Regions from separate parts of the Homo sapiens genome. Here all the other regions are linked to region 1. Evidence: promoter capture Hi-C in 16 types of primary human blood cells and fetal thymus (Javierre and others, 2016). All regions are on one chromosome and are shown on one strand. Each heading gives the region's core, a stretch centred on a gene start or on the middle of the fragment in contact. The rest is flanking DNA. Distances are from core to core; before and after follow the strand shown.

Region 1 (4,668 bases), core at 1,010-3,509:
CCCGCTTCTTGCGACCTCTTACCCTCCAGGCCGGCCTGCGCGCCCGGCTCCTTCGCGGCTGGGGCCTCCTCGCCAGCCGCTGGGCTGACAGCCCGGCCCTCCTCGGACTGCCCCTCCGCTATGGGCTGCAGTCCAGGTCGGTTCTTCTTCCTTCGGGGAGGGACAGGCGGGGGTGGGGGCCGGGGCGGGACCAAAGCCCAGCCAACTGGGGGGTCTCGAGGCGGGACTGGCGGGGCTGGGGCCCGGCTTCGGGACCGGAGTTCCTTGAAGGTGGTGACTTCCCGAGGAGGTGCCGAGGAGCCGCCCGGCGACCCCGAGGGGGGGAGCTCGGTGTCGGGCGAGAAGACTATGAGCCAGTCACTGCGATCTTTCTTCGCCTGCGGGACAAGGGGCAGCCCTGGGCCCCGCTTGCGCTTCTGGGCCAGCTCGTGGAAGGACGTGATTGTCCGGTGGGGCACCGGCTCCTCGCTGACGTCACTTCTCCATCCTCCATCAATTTTCCCTGCATCTGTTTTCGAGCCAGAATCAGTTATTCTTGTGTTGGTTTTCCAACCAGAGTCGAATTTTTCAGGTTCACTTTTCCAGCTAGAGTTAACATTCCCGTTGTTTTTCCAACCAGTGTTATTGTTTTCAGTGGTTTTCCATTCAGCTTTAGTTTTCTCTGTGTCAATTTTCCAAATTGGGTTAATCTTCCAACTGGGCTCCGTTTTCCCAGCGTCGATTTTCCCATCATCCGCCTCTAAGAGCTCAGAGGTAGGGAGATCCTGCTCCGCCCTCTCGTCCTCTTCCTCCAAGCCTGGGGAAGGGACGTCCTGGCAGGTGGTCAGGGCGTTGCAGTTCGAGTCCAGGCCAGGATCGGGTGAAGAAGAAGCTCCGGAGCAGGAATCAGGAGAGCAGCAGAAGCTGTCCGGTGAGCAGGTGCCAGGGCCTGCTGAAGCCAGTGGGGAGCCCTGCTCCAGGGGGATGATACTGGGCTGAGGGTGGGCATCCTCATCACCAGGGAGGTCCCGCAAGTAGACTGAGACAGGGGACTCATCGGGGCTAAGATCTGAGCAGGAGCTGAGTGAGGAGGAGCAGCCTGGGTCTGAGGGAGAGGCAGCCCCCTCTTCCTCCTGTGACGGGTCCTGCCGGTTTTCTAGGCCCGGACCGTGCTCCTGGCAGCACCGGCAGGGCACAGCTGGGCTGTTGGAATTGGCGTCCACCAGGGTGCCACTGCAGGGGCCCCTGCTCTCCTTGCCCCCAGTGTCTCCTGGAGGAGGGGGTGTGCTCAAAGGCCCCTCCTGTAGCTCAGGACGGCGGGACAAGTGCAGGCCCAGGGAGACGTGCTGGAGGTGGATGTGGTTGAGGTTGCAGAGTAAAGCTCTCTGAGGGGACAGCATGATGCTAGCGGCGATGGGATGGCTTCTAGAGAACCAGAAGGGTAGGGTCTCTCACATCCACCTACCTGGCAACCACAGGTGCAGACCTAGAAGACAGAGGTGGTGAAGCCCGGCCAGTGAGGACAAGAGCTGCGGGGAAGGACACCGAGGTGACTTGACGGCAGCAGCAGGCCTGAAGGCTCTGGCTGCTTTGGAAGATATTTCAATGAGATGCAAATCGCAATCGACTGACCATTAGTTTCCACTGCAGTGTTTGCAGATGGAGTCGAATGTAACCCCCCGGGAATGGAGCCGGGAGGGTCAGAGAACGCGGCTGCGCTCTGGATCTCCGAAGGGGGGCGGGGGCCTGGAAGAGGTCCGGGCCCAGAATGGACCTCCAGGTCCCTGCTGCCGCAATCTGGCCCTGCCCTCCAGCCTACCCCTTACTCCCAGAGGAAGGGACCCAGGGAGACCCACCCAGATGCCCTGAAAGGAGGTGGAGGATGGGGGTGGGGCAATACGCAGAGTTTGTCTGGTGAATGCAGGAAAGGGGTGGGGGCTGGAGAGGAAAAGGATGGAGCAGCCGTCAGCTTGTCAACTCCGCATCTGCTGGCTGCCTCGGCCGGGCTCCAGCCTGCGCCCTCGCCCCTCGGAACAGCGGTATGTCCATTCTCTCCGCATTCGTCTCCATCGTTCAGCCACCACCGCACCCTTTCTCTATTCATTTCTCCTGCTCCCTTGTCCTGCCCCGCCCCTCGTGCCCAGGTCCATCGGTCTACACCCATGGGCCGAGCCCTCCTCACCAGGGTCCTCCTGGAACCGCTCCGGCCTTGGGCTTGTCCGCGGCTCCCACGGTCCCCGCCCGGCGGGGCACAGAGCGGGAGGGGAGGGGCACTAGCACAACCTACCCTGCGCTGCGCAGCTGCACCCCTTCGCGCATGGGCGTGGCGTAGCTCAGACCCGCCCCCAGCGTTTAGCGTCTTTTGTCACCCACCTAGAGGGTTTGATATATCCTAAGCTTTTGGCCCCTGGGTCCTGGTTCCGTGCAGCGAGTCCTCCCAGCACCCCACCCTGCACATTCTGGAAAGAGCCAGACTCTGGCTGGGCCGAGCAAGAACAGAACCACAAGAAGGTTACACGATTATTTATTGAGAGCCTCCTCTCCCCGCCCTTGCAATCTCTAGGTCACTTTCTCCGCTTGTAGATTTTGCGCGCAAGCCCCAGAAAGACGGCTGGGGGCAGGGGTGCTGCGTACTGTTCAATGAGAGCCATAATGTGGCTGTAACTGTCTTCCTCATATTGCAAGAACACTGCTGGCAGATCCAGCTCCTCATATAGCGCCTTCACCCGGGCCACTTTCTCAGCCTCCTTCTGCCCGTAATTTTCCTGGAAGAGGTTGAAAGACAGGAAAACGGGCTTGGCCTTCCCCAGAGCCTCCAGGACCCCTCCACTCCCCTCATTCACATATTCCAGAACATCTCCAAAGCCACCCACTCCTTTCCTCCCTCCAATTTTCAAGTGTCTCTACGTAGCTAAAATCCCAAGCTTCCCTTCCCTATCCCAAATATTGCCTCATACCAGGCATCCTCTACTCCAGGGTTTCTCCACCTTGGCACTATTGAAATTTGGGACCAGATAATCCTGTCTGGGGGAGCTGTTCTGTGTACTACATGTTTGGCAACATCTTTGGCTCCTGCCAACTAGATGTCTGTACCACATGCACACACACAGAGTTGTAATGACAATGGCAAAAAATGTCTGCTGACATTGCCAAATGTCCCCTCGGGAGGAAAACTGCCTCTAGTTGAGAACCACTGCTCTATCCCTTTCCACCAACTCAGGGACCCACCACCCTCTCTCAGGCACCTTCAGGATCTGGTACTGTTCTGGAGTGGCCCGTTGCAGACACTGAACCACCAGCCAGCTGCATTTGTTGTCCTGGATGTCAGTGCCAATTTTGCCGGTCACACTGGGGTCCCCAAAGAGGTCAAGGTAATCATCCTGGGCAGGGAGGGGGAGGGCAGCAAAAGAGGAAGGATGAGGTTCCTGGGCAGAGGAGGAGTGAAGCTGGTGCCTGTTCTCTGCTACTGCCTCCTGCCTTCTTACCTGAATCTGAAAGAACTCCCCCATCTCCAGCAGGATCTTCTTGGCATTGGCGTGCTCCTTCTCGCCATCAATTCCTGCCTGCAGGGAAAGGGGGGTTAATAAGCCAAACCCCAGGGGTGCCGGCATCTTCCTGGCTGCTTCCTCCCATGGGGTCTTGCCCTACTGCAGCCCCAAATCTTTCCTCTCTCTTCAGACATCTTGGCTTCCCTGACCTAGACAGTCCTGACTGATGGTCCAACCTCAATCCCACTTATTTTTGGCTAGGCCTTCCTGGGAGTCATAAAAGAGATGAATCCATTCTAGAGGTGCACAGCCTGTCTCTTCCCTCACAAATGTCAGTCCCCAAGTCATTCTGATCCACCTTCCTAATATTTTTGCCACCTCCAACTTCTTTCAAGATGAAAAGGAAATGTAGAGAAGCAAGGTCAGGGTAGACACTTAATCCCACTGACTGTCTTTAATCCACTCTTCTCCCTCTCAACCTGGATGATCTCCACACTCCTATCCATACTCAGATACAGGATATATTGTTCCCCTATTATGTGCTAAGCACTTTCATATCCCTTGCCTTGCTTAATCTTTACAGTCCTGTGAAGTAGGAATTTTATCCCCAGCTGAGGAAAGAGACTGAGCGAGACCGACTTGCTCAAGGTCACACAGTTTTTCACCAGGGGTAGCAGTGTTCACGTTTTCTGCTCTATGCCTTGCTGTCCAAAAGCCCCCATCAGCAGAGCAGAGAGGGGTGAGGAGGCTCACTCACCATGTACATGGCTGCAGCTATAGGAAGGTAGAAGGAGTAGAAAGCTGTCTTGTACTTGACAATAGATTTGTACCTGAGTAAGGGGAGAAGAGAAACTCCTCAGGAGGGCAATGCACATCCTGAGCCCTCCCTCGCTGTCCAGACATGGTTCGCGCTGTCCCTCACCTCCCCTCACCTCTTTTCAGTGAATCTGACAAGATCCACATTGCCCTGGGGGGCTGTGAGGAGGTCCAGGGTCTGCCCAATCTCAGTCTGATAGGAACTCTAAGCAAGACAAAGACGGTCCATGAGCCAGGCTTTCTCCAGATATGCGAAACCCTGGTATCCCAAGCCCAACATCCCATACCAGCTGACAACTGGGCAGAATCAGAAAGGCAACAGAAGGGGAGAAAGCCCCAAAACTTAAGGCCCATATTCATACACACAGTCCTTTATCACCCTTTC
Region 2 (4,668 bases), core at 996-3,495, 220 kb before region 1:
GCTTCTTAAAATCAGCAGCTTCTTGAAATTGAAGAAATATATAGAGTACATAAATATGAAACTAACTAGATTTATTGGATATCAGTACTTTGAGAGTTAGAAATGGTTACTGATTGTCATCTTTTCAGTGAAGGGTTCTATAGTTGAGTAAAAAATTTGTCTAACTTTGTAAGTATAGTTTATATTGTAGAAATTGCTTCCAATTTTGTTGGTAACTTCATGAAGCTATTCTAATTTTTTTGTGATTTTAGTGACTTATATAATATTAGTGACTTAGTAGTTTCATGTAAAATATCTTCAAACTAATTAGGGCATGGGTTACTCTTTTACCTTTGGAAAGCACATTACATGGTGTATATAGTGCTTATTTTTTAAATTATAGAAACTGAAAAATTTATATAATATTTAAAGAAAAATATCAATTTTTAATATTTTAAGTTTCATTTTGCCTATTCTCTTTTATCTATATACACGTTTTAAAATGTAGAATTAATGTTTGTTTACTCATTCAATAGATATTTTTTGAATGCCCTTTATGTTCTAGGTGCTTTGCTAAGGATGTAGCAGTGAATACAGCAAACAGGATTTTTATTCTCATGTAATGCATGGTCTAGTGGAAGATATGGATATTAAATAACTTAATTGGTATAATGCATATTAAGAGACTTATAGTATGGATATGCACTTAGCAGGGTGATCTGCCAGACTCAAGCCATCCTCCCGCCTCAGCCTCCCAAGTCTAGGGGAATAGGAAATGTCTCCCCGAGGGAATGACTTTTAAACTAAGATGGAAAGGAAGAGAAGTAGTCATATGGAAAGATGCTGGAAGAGAGTTCCAGGCAGAGAGAACTAACTGTATGTTCTAAAGGAGGGAAAACAGTTATTTGGGAACTGAAAAGTGCTTCAAACACATGTATCACAGATGTATGAGTGTTTGCTTTTTTGTTGTTTCCTGTTGTTGTTGTTGTTAAGACAGGGTCTCGTGTTGTCACTCAGGCTGGAGTGCAGTGGTGTGATCTTAGCTCGCTGCAGCCTTGACTTCCCAGGCTCAAGCGATCCTCCCACCTCAGCCTCCCAAGTAGCTGGGACTATGGGCATGAGCCACCATATCCAGCTAATTTTTGCATTTTTTGTAGAGATGGGGTTTTGCTGTGTTGCCAGGCTGATCTCAAACTCTTAGACTCAAGCAGTCTGCCTGCCTTGGCCTCCCAAAGTGCTGGGATTACAGGTTTGAGTAACTGCACCCAGCTGAGTGCTTGCTTTTTTTTGGTGGTGGTTATTTGCTCTTGCTCTGCTCACAACAGTGTGGGGAATGGTGAGGCCAGAGATATGTAGGGGCAGTTAACAACAACAAAAAGTAAACAGTGATACTGTGAAGTGCTGTTCTAAGTACTTTTCATATATTAGTTTATTGAACCCTTACAACAATTTCTATTCACATTTGAGAGAACTGAGGCCGTGAGTACTTTGCACAAAATTAATATAGCAGGACTAGCTTCTGAGACTGTGTTTTGGCTTCAGAGACTATATTCTTAACCACCAAACCATGCTGCAGATTGTAAGTTGCAAGTTATGAGTGTGATTAGGGACTTTTATATATGAAGGGCAGTGAGAAAACATTCAAAGATTTTAAGCAGGGAAATTACATTATCAGAATTTTTTTTTTTTTTGAGACAAGGTCTTGCTCTGTCACCCAGGCTGGAGTCAGTGGTGCAATCATAGCTCACTGTAGCCTTGACCTCCTGGGCTCAAGGAATCCTCCCACCTCAGCTTCCTGAGTAGCTGGTACTACAGGTGGGTGTGCCACAACACCTAGCTGATTTTTTATTTTATTTTTTATTTTTAGTGGAGATGAGGTCTTGCTGTGTTGCCCAGGCTGGTCTCAAAATCCTGGGCTCAAGCGATCGTCCTGCCTTGGCCTCAAGCGATCTTCCTGCCTTGGCCTCAATGTGCTGGGATTACAGGCATGAGCCACTGGGCCTTTGAGAAAAACAATCTCTAGTGGCTCACGCCTGCATTCCCAGCACTTTGGGAGGCCGAGGCTGGAAGATCGTTTGAGCCCAGGAGTTCGAGACCAGCCTGGGCAACATAGCAAGATGCTGTCTCTACAAAAATAAAAAATTGGCTGGGCATGGTTGGTGTGTGCCTGTAGTCCCAGCTACTCAGGAGGCTAAGGCTGCTTGGGCCCAGGAGGTTGGGACTGCAGTGAACTATGATCGTGCCACTGCTCTCCAGCCTGGGTGACAGAGCAAGATTTTTTCTCAAAGAACAAGAACAAAATATATATATATATATAAAATAAAACACCTTTCTGGATGTAGCTTGGGCTGGAGGAGAGCAAGGTAGATGTACAAAGAAGTTAGAGGGCTGTTGCTATATTCTGGGTGAGAATTGTTGGTTTTTTTGGACAAGTCAGTGGGAGAATTGGAGAGGAACTCTATGTAATCACAGATTATTTATGTGACATTCAGAAGTTTTGGTGTTAGGTTGAAGGTTGACAATAAGGGAGTGAGAATAGTCAGGATGAGTGCCACTGCACTCCAGCCTGGGTGACAGAGTGAGACTCCATCTCAAAAAATAAAAAATAAAAATTAAAAAATTAAAAAGATACCAAAAGATTTTAGAGAAGCAAAAGACTGACTGAACCTAAAGAATTCCAACATCTGGGAGTCTGGTAGGCCAAATCAGATCTGCAGATAAGACTCAGGAGTGGCTTCCAGAGAGGTGGCAGGAATGTGTACTATCATAGTAACCTGTAGTAGTTTGACTAGTAGTAGCTCTGACTTGAGCAATTGGTGGTACTGAAATGGGAAAGATTGGAGGAGGATTAAACTTTGTAAAGATATTGAACCAGGTTTCAGATATACTGTCTGGAGCTTAAAAGTCTTAAGTAGTATAATAAATTACACAGGGAAAGAATCTAGAGTAGGAGCCAGGTGCAGTGGCACATGCCTATGGTCCCTATTACTTGGGAAGCTGAGGTGGGAGGATCCCTTGAGCACAGGAGTTGGAGGCTGCAGTAAGCTATTATTATGCCACTGTACCCCAGGCCAGATGATAGAGCCGTCTTTATTAAAAAAAAAAAAAAAAAAAAAAGGCTGGGTACAGTGGTTCACACCTGTAATCCCAGCACTTTGGAAGGCCGAGGCGGGCAGATCACGAGGTCAGGAGTTCAATATAGTGAAACCTTGTCTCTACTGAAAATATAAAAAATTAGCCGGATGTGGTGGTGCGTTCCTGTAGTCCCGGCTACTCGGGAGGCTGAGGCAGGAGACTCGCTTGAACCCAGAAGGCAGAGGTTGCAGTGAGCCGAGATTGCGCCATTGCATTCCAGCCTGGGTGACAGAGTGAGACTCCATCTCAAAAACAAACAAACAAACAAACAAACAAAAAAACGCCAGGTGCCATAGCTCATGCCTGTAATCCCAGCACTTTGGGAGGCTGAGGTGGACAGATCACTTGAGGTCAGACGTTCAAGACCAACCTGGCCAAAATGGTGAAACCCCATCTCCAAAATGCAAAATATAAGTACTAAAGATACAAAAATTAGCCTGGCCTGGTGATGCGCACCTGTAGTCCCAGCCACTTTGGAGGCTGAGACAGGAGACTCACTTGAACCCAGGATGCAGAGGTTGCAGTGAGCCAAGATGGTGCCACAGCACTCCAGCCTGGGTGACAGAGTGAGACTCCATCTCCAAAAATAAAAATAAAAAATAAATAAAAATTAAAAAATTTAAAAAATGCCAAAATATTTTAGAGAAAGAAAAGACTGACTGAACCTAAGGAATTCCAACATCTGGAAGTCTGGTAGGCCAAATCAGATCAGCAGATAAGACTCAGGAGTGGCTTCCAGAGAGGTGGCAGGAATGTGTACTATCACAGTAACCTGTAGTAGTTTGTGTCTTGTGTTCATTTTCTTAGTACTGCCTTTTTGAAGGACAGAAGTTTATAGTTTTGGTGAAGTTCAGTTTACCAGCTTTTTTTAAAAAAAAAAAATCATGCTGTCATATCTAAGAAATTTTGCCTAACCCAAAGTCACAAAGATTTCCTTCTACATTTTCTTTTAGGAATTTTATAGTTCGTTTTCGAATTTAGATTTGTGATCCACTTGAGTTAATTTTTGTGTATGATGTGAGGTAAGGGTCTGAGTTCTTTTCTTGCAGATGGATATCCTGTAGTAGATTTGGAGTGAGAAGATTACATTCAATCCAAGTTCTTCTATTTACTAATTTTACAGTCTTAGAGTTAATCACGTTTCGAAGCCTGTTTGCCCATCTATAAAATGTGATTAGTTAAATCTAATAAGATTATTGTCAGAATGAAACAAATGAGACAATAAGTGAAACCACTTTGGCATAGTGTATGGCGCCTAGTAGGACTAAGATAGATAAATGTTAGTGGAGTTTGAAAAACACTCCCAGGATACCCAAATACTCTTCTTGTTTGTTTCTTTAAATTCGTTTCAGTGAGTGAATAATGCCCAAGCTTTTGGTTTTCAGATATAATCATTGTAATATTTAATCCCTTGAAATTACCTCTTAATCTTAAAGTCTATCAGCTTTAAACTCTAGGCAGCAAATGCACTGCAGGCATGTTTTAGGGAGTTTTGACTTCTTTGGGTTTGTTTGATAACATTTGATAAATAATTGCCTTTCTGTGTTGAATTTC
Region 3 (4,668 bases), core at 899-3,398, 150 kb before region 1:
GCAGTGGCTCACACCTGTAATCCCAGTGCTTTGGGAGGCCGAGGTGGGCGGATCATGAGGTCAAGAGATCGAGACCATCCTGGTTAACACGATGAAACCCCATCTCTACTTAAAATACAAAAAAAATTAGCCAGGCATGGTGGCAGGCGCTTATAGTCCCAGCTACTCGGGAGGCTGAGGCAGGAGAATGGCGTGAACTCTGGAGGTGGAGCTTGCAGTGAGCCGAGATAGCACCACTGCACTTCAGCCTGGGCAACAGAGCGAGACTCCATCTTAAAAAAAAAACAAAAAACAAAAAAAGACTTGTGTATTAGGGAAAAGATAAACCCCTCGAATACAAAGAGTTTTTGTTCCTGATTTTCATTATTCATGAACTTTTGAAAAATTAAAACTTAGTGGAGAATCTGAGTGTTCCTTAGCTTTTAACAGTGTTTATTTATTTATTCATTTTTTTATTTTGAGACGGAGTCTTGCTCTGTTGCCCAGGCTGGAGTGCAATGGTGCAATCTCGGCTCACTGCAACCTCCGCCTCCCGGGTTCAAGCGATTCTCCTGCCTCACCCTCCCGAGTAGCTGGGACTACAGGTGCATGCCACCACACCCGGCTAGTTTTTTATATTTCTAGTAGAGACAGGGTTTCACCGTGTTAGCCAGGATGGTCTCGAACTCCTGACCTCGTGATCCGCCCACCTCGGCCTCCCAAAGTGCTGGGATTACAGGCTTGAGCCACTGCACCCGGCCAGCTTTTAACAACGTAAAGAGAGAAAAAGTCTTATGCTTAGGTCCATTCAACAAATAGTTTATTTAATCAGTAATAGTTACTGAATATCAGGTATTTACCAGGCATTCTACTTTGTGGGCCCTTGTTATATAATAGAGAATGAGGCACACAGGTTCATTGAGTCATGGAGATTATAGTAGAGGAGGTAGATAATAAACAAAAAATCACATTACGTGTTGTTAAAATTGTGATAAGGACTGTAAAAGGGAGAGAGTACAGCATGAAATGGGGAGCCTAACCCAGAGAAGTCTTTCCTGAGAAGGTGATCCTAAACTGAGACCTGGCAGATGTGCAACATTTAACTGGATAAACAGACTCATTCATTATTCATTCATTTACTGGTTCATATGTTGAATTCCTGAAACATACAGGACTATTCTAGTCACTGGCATATACAATAGTAAATGCCTGATATCTGACCTCATAATTTTCAGCTTAGTGAAGGAAGACAAACCATAGAGTGATAAGCAAATAAATAATGGCTTAATTGAGAAAAATGCTATAAAGTTAATACCATGGAGTGTTATGATACAGATTAAAGGGCTGGCAGAAGGGGATCTAATTAGATAGTTACTAGTTATGGCTGAGGATAAAAAGTTGAGACTTAAAGGATGAGAAGCCACAGTGAAGTCCAGGCGCGGTGGCTCACGCCTGTAATCTCAGAACTTTGGGAGGCTGAGGTGGCCAGATCACTTGAGGTCAGGAGTTTGAGGCCAGCTGGCCAACACGGTGAAACCCCATCTCTACTAAAAATACAAAAATCAGCCGGGCATGGTGGCACGTGCCTGTAGTCCCAGCTACTTGGGAGGCTGAGGCAGGAGAATCGCTTGAACCCAGGAGGCGGAGATTGCAGTGAGCCCAGATCACGCCAGTGCAACAGAGTGAGACTGTATCTCAAAAAATAAAAATAAAAAAAAAGCCACAGTGAAGAACATGTTTTAAGATTCTCAGTTGGGAAGGAGTTTAGATATTGGATAAACTGAAAAAAGCTTCATCGTGGTGAAAGAGGAAATACAGAGAGAGTAGTGAGAAATGTGGCAAAAGAAGAGACCAAACAATGTGTTAAGAATTTTGGATTTTATATTAAGAACAAAAGACAAAGGAGTATTGATTTTAGGTTTGCATTTTTAAATGATGATTTTGCCTTCTGCATGAACACTGGATGGAGAGGATAAAAATAATTTGAAGGAAACTGGTTAATAGGCAATTGCAGTAGTCTAGATAACATGATGGTGCTTAGATTAGGTTAGTGGCAGGCTTATGTCTGAACATATGGGAGATTGGAGATAACATGCACTAAGAGAGAGAAGACTATAGGAGGAGCAGATTTAGAGGAGAACACAGTTTTTTTTTTTCTTTTGTTTTTGAGACAGGCTCTCACTCTGTTGCCCAGGCTGGAGTGCAGTGGCACGATCTTGGCTCACTGCAACCTGTTTCCTGGGCTCAAGCCATTTTCCAGCCTCAGCCTCCTGAGTAGCTGGGACTACAGGTGCAAGCCACCAATGCCAGGCTAATTTCTTTGTATTTTTGTAGAGATGGGGTTTCGCCATGCCGCCCAGGCTGATCTTGAACTCCTGGGCTCAAAGGGACCCTCCTACCTTGCCCTCCCAAAGTGCTGGGATTATAGGCCTGAGTCACCACTCTGAGCCACTTTTTAATACATACAGTTTGAAGTGTCTGAACGTTGAAGCGGAGGATTTGAGAAGGTCGTTGGGTATCTAGTTCTCAGGCTTAGTAGAGAAGCTTGACCTGGAGATAAGAGCATTTCCTCTGAGTATTTGAAAAATTGTGTTAGGCAATATCATTCACTAAAAAGGGCTTCTGGGTGAAATAAAAGTTAGGAACAGACTCTCAAAAACCTGTGCAACTTTATAAGCAGAGCATCAAGAAAAGTAATAATTTTCAAAAACAGCAGTTAAAAAGACATACTAGACCAGGCACAATGGCTCATGCCTGTAATCCCAGCACTTTGGGAGACCAAGGCAGGCAGATCACCTGAGGTCAGGAGTTCGAAACCAGCCTGGCCAACATGGCGAAACCTGTCTCTACTAAAATAAAAAAATTAGCCAGCAGTGCTGGTATGTGCCTGTAGTCTCAGCTACTCGGGAGGCTGAGGCAGGAGAATCCCTTGAACCTGGAAGGTAGAGGTTGCAGTGAGCCGAAATTGTGCCACTGCACTCCAGCCTGGATGACAGTGTGAGAGTCTGTCTCAAAAAAAATATATGTATATATATTGTTAAGACTAAATGTCTTAATAAATAAAGAGGCTGGGAATGGTGGCTAATGCCTGTAATCTCAACACTTTGAGAGGTGAGGTTGAAGTATCACTTGAGCCTAGGAGTTGAAGACCAGCCTGGGCAACATAGGAGCCTCCCATCTCTACAGAAAAATGTTTTTTAAATTAGCTGGGCATGATGGCATACGCCTGTAGTCCTGGCTACTCAGGAGGCTGTGGCAAGTTGATCACTTGAGCCCGGGAGTTCAAGGCTGCTACTGTAAGCTGTGATCGTGCCACTTCACTCCAGCCTGGGCTGGCAGAGTGATACTCTGTCTCAAAAAAAAAAAAAAAAAATAGAAATACTACAATAAATATAGGCATTAACCTTCCAGGAAAAGATGAAGGTCGCTTGTAGGGATATAAAGAAGGGTTGAAGCTGCTCAACTGTAGGCACAGAAGGATGTCATTGGTAGATAAATGTAGCAATGCCAGACATAGCTGGTTCTAGTGTATTGTACCTGTTTGTTTCTTTTGTACAAACATTGAGAGAAGCCACACAATAAAAACACTTGCAGAAAAGTCTGTTGCCAGTAGGAGCCAAGAGGAAGAATGTGGATGAATGTACATTTTGAACAGAACTACATTGCTTATGGCTTTCTTCATTTAGTTTGTGTTGGTGTACTCCTTCGTTCAGCTGCTAGTTTTGTCCTGCAAAATATTTATGTGCTTTAAAAGTCATGTATTAACCAATACAACTTCCATATTCTGGTATCATTCTTGTATTTATCAATGATACAAGAGCTATTTAACTATATAGAAACACATACAATAACAAAACATACTGTATACCTTTGTGAATTTTTATATGTATAATCATGAGAGTAATGATATTTTCCTTGGGAGAGAATAGGGAGTGAAAAACAAACAGCCTTGGGTAGCTCTGAGGAACTGCAGTATTTAAAGTAGTGCTTAAAAAACTGTCAGCTTTTGGCCCACATGTGATTCTTTGTGATGATCTCTACACTTTTTAAAAAATTGCTCATATTAAAAAATGTAGCAATTTTACATAAAAATGTGGAATTCTGCTTCTCAGAAAAATCAGAACATCTGGCAACAATTAGTCCACATTTCGTGGATAATAGGGATGGCTGGGGCTCAGTATTGGCAGGCCCTTTTTCATTGCTGCTTGTATTCTTTTGTTCGCCACAGTCCTCACTGTTTTCTGTTGTGTGTTGTATCTGGCCCTCTTCAGCTATTTAAAGAGGGAACTTTTGGATTTGAGATCCCTAATTTCAGAGTCATGAGAAGGAGATTATAAAGGATGAGTAAATTGAGGTGAAGGTGATATGAGATGACAGGTTAGGATGTTGAATGTATCATCTACATGGACATTGAAATTACCCAAGAGGACAGTTACAGAAGTTGGGGTGAAAATGGTGGATGTGAACCTGGTTTCAGGGTCCTTGGGGAATGAGAAAGATAGCAGGGAAGTTTATGCAAAAGTACCTGTGTTAAGTACGAATTTGTCTTTTTAAAAATTTCCTTCTTTATTTATTTGAGATGGAGTCTCTCTCTGTCATCCAGGCTAGAGTTCAGTGGCGTAATCTAGGCTCACTGCAAAACCCGCCTCCTGGGTTCAAGCTGTTCTCCTGCCTCAGCCTCCGAGTAGC

The links. The method cuts DNA at HindIII sites, captures the fragments that hold promoters and counts their contacts. A CHiCAGO score of 5 or more calls a contact.
Region 2: a fragment that was not itself captured here is called in contact with the fragment with the promoter of RUSC1 in region 1 in 4 of 17 cell types (endothelial precursors, M2 macrophages, M1 macrophages and 1 more); the score reaches 7.4 in endothelial precursors.
Region 3: a contact is called between a fragment that was not itself captured here and the fragment with the promoter of RUSC1 in region 1, in 2 of 17 cell types (endothelial precursors and erythroblasts). The highest score is 7.0, in endothelial precursors.

The regions. Positions count from the first base shown.
Region 1 is chr1:155,318,485-155,323,152 of GRCh38, reverse strand. It overlaps RUSC1 (RUN and SH3 domain containing 1), which reads right to left and starts at 2,259. Exons shown (of 10, transcript NM_001105203.2): 1 at 2,162-2,259; 2 at 23-1,465. The coding sequence starts at 1,379. It overlaps FDPS (farnesyl diphosphate synthase), which reads right to left. Exons shown (of 11, transcript NM_002004.4): 7 at 4,400-4,488; 8 at 4,225-4,297; 9 at 3,465-3,542; 10 at 3,225-3,359; 11 at 2,488-2,744. The coding sequence ends at 2,544. It overlaps RUSC1-AS1 (RUSC1 antisense RNA 1), which reads left to right. Exons shown (of 6, transcript NR_145424.1): 2 at 716-910; 3 at 1,458-1,528; 4 at 3,221-3,350. RefSeq lists silencers at 1-187, 2,168-2,317 and an enhancer at 569-1,552. The HindIII fragment of the contact is 14,544 bases long and covers 1-2,378 here.
Region 2 is chr1:155,537,070-155,541,737 of GRCh38, reverse strand. The region is part of intron 1 of ASH1L (ASH1 like histone lysine methyltransferase); the gene reads left to right. Among named protein-coding and RNA genes, the nearest start is that of ASH1L-AS1, 23 kb to the left of the region's middle. RefSeq lists a silencer at 868-917. The HindIII fragment of the contact is 4,484 bases long and covers 4-4,487 here.
Region 3 is chr1:155,472,177-155,476,844 of GRCh38, reverse strand. All of the region lies in intron 3 of ASH1L (ASH1 like histone lysine methyltransferase), which reads left to right. Among named protein-coding and RNA genes, the nearest start is that of ASH1L-AS1, 88 kb to the left of the region's middle. The HindIII fragment of the contact is 754 bases long and covers 1,772-2,525 here.